2 separate regions of the Homo sapiens genome follow, and region 1 is linked to region 2. The links are contacts of gene promoters, found by promoter capture Hi-C in human tissues and cell types (Jung and others, 2019). All regions are on one chromosome and are shown on one strand. Each heading gives the region's core, a stretch centred on a gene start or on the middle of the fragment in contact. The rest is flanking DNA. Distances are from core to core; before and after follow the strand shown. Region 1 overlaps TACC2 (transforming acidic coiled-coil containing protein 2). Region 2 holds the start of BTBD16 (BTB domain containing 16).

Evidence for each region. The method cuts DNA at HindIII sites, captures the fragments that hold promoters and counts their contacts. A contact is called where the count stands out against the background at its distance.
Region 1: a contact is called between a fragment that was not itself captured here and the fragment with the promoter of BTBD16 in region 2, in 2 of the 25 tissues and cell types used here (IMR-90 fibroblasts and adrenal gland).

What each region holds. Positions count from the first base shown.
Region 1 is chr10:122,037,187-122,040,267 of GRCh38, reverse strand. The region is part of intron 2 of TACC2 (transforming acidic coiled-coil containing protein 2); the gene reads right to left. Among named protein-coding and RNA genes, the nearest start is that of TACC2, 50 kb to the right of the region's middle. The HindIII fragment of the contact is 3,981 bases long and covers 1-3,081 here.
Region 2 is chr10:122,270,046-122,272,920 of GRCh38, reverse strand. BTBD16 (BTB domain containing 16) reads right to left here and starts at 1,625. Exons shown (of 16, transcript NM_144587.5): 1 at 1,407-1,625. The HindIII fragment of the contact is 10,681 bases long and covers 1-2,875 here.

The sequences.
Region 1 (3,081 bases), core at 272-2,771, 230 kb after region 2:
GCCCCCCTTGGCTGGGTGTTAGACAGTCTCCCAACTTCCCATTGGACCGTGTCCTCCCACTCCCCAAACGAGTCACCCTTTAGAGCCGTGGTTATACATTTCTCTTCATTTCCAACCATCAGGTGGTGCAATACATCACCTGTGCAAGTGTACTTTAGTAACCGAGGCTGCTTAGAGCCCCCTGAGAACAGCCTCCCAGGAGGCCTAAGTGAGTCCATTCCCAAAGGAAGGAGCAAGGGTAACAACTAGGACTCAGCTTGCTGCAAAAGGCACCCACAAGGGGCTGGGCTGAGGCTCCATGGCCCCAGCTCAGTAAGAGGAACCTCCAATTAGCAGATAGAAGAGGTTTCAGGCTGAGTGTGGGAATTTTCCTCTGTCGATGGCTTCTCTTCCCTCAGGAACAGAGAACAGAACCCAAAGCTACCACTAAAATTCAGAGTTTCAATAGCATTTGTGCTGACAAAACAAGAAATCACTGTGACTGGTTGGCAGGATAGGAAGGTAAGACTGTTGTGATGTTATTAAAATTGACTACTTGAATAAGATAAATCAGTTTGTAATTAATGCAGCAATTAATTGTTTTCAAAAAGTGTCAAAAGCAAATACTGTCGAAATAAACTGCCGGCTCACTGCCTAGAGGCTCCGAGGAGAGGTCCTGTTGTGCTTACCTCCCTGCCTCCCTCATCTGCCTGAAGGCCCAGTCCTCCCAGGCACTTGTTGTCCCCCAACCCCACATCTCAGGCCGCCCCAGACCCTGCTGCCTCATCTGACCTTGTCTCCACCCCCACCTTCCAATTCCCACGCCTTTTTCTGCACTCAGATCAGCAGCCTGAACCCTCATATCCCAGGATCATCACGGAACAGACCCTTAACCTTCCCACCTTACCCATGCCAGCTGCCCTCTGAGAACCTACCAGGTTCCAACCCTCTCAAGGGGAGGCTGATTTTCCTTCCACAAGCCCAGAAGATCATGGTTTCAAAATAGAGTCAGGAGGCCAGCACGGTGGCTCACACCTGTAATCCCAGTACTTTGGGAGGCCAAGGTGAACAGATCACCTCAGGTCAGGAGTTCGAGACCAGGATGGCCAACATGGTGAAACCCCATCTCTACTAAAAATACAAAACTTAGCCAGGCATGGTGGCACCTGCCTGTAATCCCAGCTACTCCGGAGGCTGAGGCAGGGGAATCATTTGAACCCAGGAGGCAGAGGTTACAGTGAGCCAAGATTGTGCCACTGCACTCCAGCCTGGCTGACAGAGTGAGACTCCGTCTCAAAACAAAACAGAAAAAAAGCAAAAAACACATGAGTCAGGAACCTTGTGTCCCCCGCCAATGTTCTTTCTAAGCCATTTCACTTCCCCCACCTGCAAAACTCAATGTCCCTTTAATGCAATGATGCTGTAACTGAGTATCCCATTTTTCTAAGAGAAAGAAAATGGTTTTAATTATTTTTTTTCTTTTCTCTCTCCTTCTTTTCTCATGTTCCTCACTTCCTACTTAGCGCTTTAGAAATGCAATTATAACCTTATAACCTTGACCTTCCCTTCACCAGACACTCCCTATAGGACAAGCTTATCTGACTCTGTGCTCACTTAGAAGCTCCAGAGCCAGAAAGCTCTCCCAGCAGGAGATTGCCTCAAGAAACAACTGTCAATTTCCAACCTCAAGTACGCCCACGACGGAAGTCTTTCCCACCTGGAGAGCGTCTCAAGACAACGACCACCTTAGAACCTAGTTTTGTGCCAGCTGGACCACCTGGTGGATAAGGCACTGAAGTGAGTCCAGTGGTCCCCCACCTACTCACTCCCTCCCCACCTGCTGTGCATGCAAAGTCCCCCCTTTAAAAGTCCCTGCTTTCTGCCCCAAAAGCAAAGCAGTGCCCTTAAAAGCAGAAGCCTGTACTTTTCCCCCTAAGCTAAGCTTTAGAATAAAAAGTCACTTTTTTCATGTCAGCCCTCACTCGTTTTTTGGTTTGTGTGTTTGTTTATTTGTTTTTTGAGACAAGGTCTCACTCTTGTCACCCAGGCTGGAGTGCAGTGGCGCCATCTTGGCTCACTGCAACCTCTGCCCCCTCTCCCCCAAGGGCTTAAGTGATCCTTCCACCTCAGCCTCCCAAATAGCTGGGACCACAGGTGCACACCACCACACCCTGCTAATTTTTTGTATTTTTAGTAGAGACAGGGGTCTCGCCATGTTGCACTGGCTAGTCTCAAACTCCTGTAGCTCTTGTTAATTGGACTGTACAAGTGGTGAGTGACTGAAGCTTTGGTTTGGTTACAGTGCTACTGAGTGCACTCCTTTTATTCTCTGAGGTATCTCCTACAAAAACAAACAAACAAACAAACAAACAAACAAAAACCAACAAAAAGCCTCACCTGGGAGCCTCTGGCCTCCCAGGCTTCTTGCTCTCTATTATCCCAGGACCTCAGCCCCATCCAGAATAATGAGCCAAACACTGCTAAGGGGCTCTGCCCCTTGATCATTGTGTACAAGAGAAAGACTCAGGCGCCGTGACTGTTGAGGTGCAAAGAATAACCCAATACCCTGAGCTTGAAGCAGAGGAGATTTACTCACACGGATGGGTATACATGAGGGACTGCAGCCCCTGCAAAGGCTCAAAGACCATCTCTCTGAACAAGCCACAGGGACTCAACAAAGCAAAAGCCAGGGAGTTTTACAAGGAAATGTGGTTGGTTGGTTTTAACCAGTCCTTCGCTTGTCAGTTTCCAATTGGCCGGTTATGGGGAGCTCAGTCTGGCTGAGTGCTGAGTCTCAAGTCCGCTGAGCCCAGACAGAGCTGGGCACAAGTTCACCGTCAGCTGCTCTGCTTCCTCCTTGGGGAGCCCTGACTGCTGGAGTCTCACCCCCATGGTGAGTGAGCATACAGGCTCAAATCCCAGTGAAATGCTCTTTTATCACCATGGCTTTGTACCACAGGTAGAAGAAAGCCAGACTTCTTACCAGGGCTGGTTGGGACCTACAAAACTGAGCCCTCACCCAGCTCCCTGGCTGCACAGCTCACCATAATTTGCCTCACCCACTTTTCTCCAGCCACACCGGCCTTCTTTGCTGATCTTAAA
Region 2 (2,875 bases), core at 376-2,875:
CTGTTTAATTTTTCTTTTCTGAAAACTGCCTAATCATAGGTTTTCCGCAATTTTCTACTGGGTTACTGTAGTCTCACTAGCATTTTTTAAGGAGCCCTCTATGTACTGGGGACACTAACATTTTGTCTGCCATACATGCTGCAGAAGTGTATCATTTGTCTTTTGACTTTGTTTATGGTAAACAAATTGTTTCATTAGTATGAAAATATGTCCTGTGTGTGTGTGTGTGTGTGTGTGTGTGTATTTCCTTTGCCAGTCTCTAATTTGAAAACATATCTGGGGCCAGGCCCAGTGGCTCATGCCTGTAATCCCAGCACTTTGGGAGGCCAAGGCAGGTGGATCACCTGAGGTCAGGAGTTCAAGACCAGCCTAACCAATATGATGAAACCTTGTCTCTACTAAAAATACAAAATTAGCTGGGTGTGGTGGCGCATGCCTGTAATCCCAGCTACTTGGGAGGCTGAGGCAGGACAGTCACTTGAACTCTGGAGGTGGAGGTTGCAGTGAGCCAAACTCTCACCATTGCACTCCAGCCTGGGAAACAAGAGCGAAACTCTGTCTCGAGGGGAAAGAAAAAAGAAAAAGAAACGTGTCTGGGTACAAACATGGCCCTGGTGTTTGTACCCAGCTGCTGGTGTCTTCATCTGCAATTGCATCCATGTATGCATGTGTGTTAAGAGCATCTTTGGCTGTTCAACCAGCTTTCAGAGGTGCACTTGAGTTTACAGCAATGTGTGTTTTCCTTGATGGCTGAGTTTCCACCTTGCGTGAGGCTTCTCCCACCTCAGGTAACACATACATGCTTTTCTGATCCCTTTACCTCACAGGAGCCAGGATGATGAACTCCTCAGCTTAAAGCCCTTCACCAGCTTCCCACTGCCCTAGACATAGACCCCCAAATCCTCAACGTGGCCTTAAGGAATCTGAGAAGAGAGAAGAGGGTTCCATTCTAAAGCAGACCTGGTCAGCACAGAATAAACCCCACACGGGACTCGCTATGCCCACAGAGCACCGCTTCAGTTACAGAGAGAGGGAGGCTGGGGTTTGCACTCAGCTACCCAAAGCTCCTGCTTTCTTAGATCAATATCTAAGAACTTTTTTAGCTGATCTTGAAATCCAGAGACATCTCAATGGCCTGGAAATGTGTTCTTTTTTCATCCCACCAGGCAATCTGCCCCTTCGTGTGTTTTGAGAGCCTGTGCCAAGGTCCCTGTGGGCGGGCAGGAGCTACCTACAATGGTCTCTCAGCTCCCAGACCCCTCCTGATTCCCTAAACTCCCTCCCTGCCAAGTAGACCAGAGGCACCCAAGTCTAACACTGGGTCTAGACAGGTGCTAAGACAGCACCTGTCACTAGGACACATTTCTTGGTCTCTGAAGTGGCTGAAAAATACCCATTGTACTTACCGTTCCAAAGCCCTTTTGCCCACCACAGGCGTGTTTACAGGGGAAGTGTGCTGAGTGGAGGAACTCCCATCACACTGGCCTCTGAGTTACAGGAGAGCTGGGGGCGCCTTCTGAGCCTGAAGCCTGGAAGCGCTCATCACATCTGGGGCTCCCCCTTTTCTTCTTATGGGCCAAGGTGCTTTGACAGGGGGAGCTTGCCTTGGTTTCCTGGGTGGTTGTGAGCACCACGGCAACGGCAGGGAAGCTTCCAAGCACTTCCTGTTCCAGGGCCAGGTTTCAACTCAGGCTCGGGCTGTGTCCAAGGCCCTGGCTGATGGGGAGAAGCTGTGAGTGATGGCATCTCAGAGACCAGTGTGGGTGCCATGTGCCTCCATTCCTGTTCCTCACAGCACCTGGGGCAACCCAGGGCACAGCCTCAGTGAGAACCAACCCCCAAATCTTCAGGCTTCATCTGTCAAAGGAGAAGATTAGACTAGAAGCTTCTCAGATGCCTCCCAGCTCTGGCATTCTGGGGTGCTCTATTTCTAGCATTTTCTATCTGTGTTTTGACAAACATATTTCAATAAAAATTGAGCATTCCGCATTATTAAAAGCTATGCCTAATGAAGTACTTTGCTGATGATGATTTTTAATGCTGCTCTCTCTGGGAGCTAAGGACTGCCTAAAAGTCAAGGACAAGACCAAGAGCCTTCAAGCTGGCATCCAGAGTGGAAATGTTTGGGATTTGTTTGTTTTGTTTTGCTTTTTTTTTTTCTCTGAGATGGAGTCTCACTCTATCGCCCAGGCTGGAGTGCAGTGGTGTGATCTTGACTCACTGCAACCTCCGCCTCCTAGGTTCACCGGGTTCAAGCAATTCTTGTGCCTCAGCCTCCTGAATAGCTGGGATCACAGGTGCCCGCCACCACACCGGCCTAATTTTTGTATTTTTAGTAGAGACAGGGTTTCACCATATTAGCCAGGCTGGTCTCGAACTCCTGACCTCAGGTGATCTGCCCACCTCGGCCTCCCAAAGTGCTGAGATTACAGGTGTGAGCCACCGCACCTGGCCCTAAGTGCAATCTTACAGTGTCCTCAGCGACGTGGCCTGTGAAGCCCATGACCCAAACTAGGGGATGGGGAGGTGGAGGCCATGTGGGTCAGAGTCACATGGGTCACCACGGGTCCATCAAAGGCCTGGACCACCACCCCAGGGATCACAGAAATCCCTAGTTACAGTAATAGGAACCAGGAGGCAGTACAGCTTTTAAGACCCAAGGCCAGCCTCTCCTAGGCCACATACATCCTAAAGTAAAACGGGAAAGTAGCTGCGCTGCCTCCTGTGGCTGTGATCTAGAAACTACGAAACACTCTATAAATGGGAGGTACCCCTGAATTTGTCTCCCGCCTCAGCCCTCAAATCCTGTGATTCTACTCCTCCCAACACCATATTCTGCTTTGCACAGAAGCCGATCGCTGTGGAATGTTCTGTG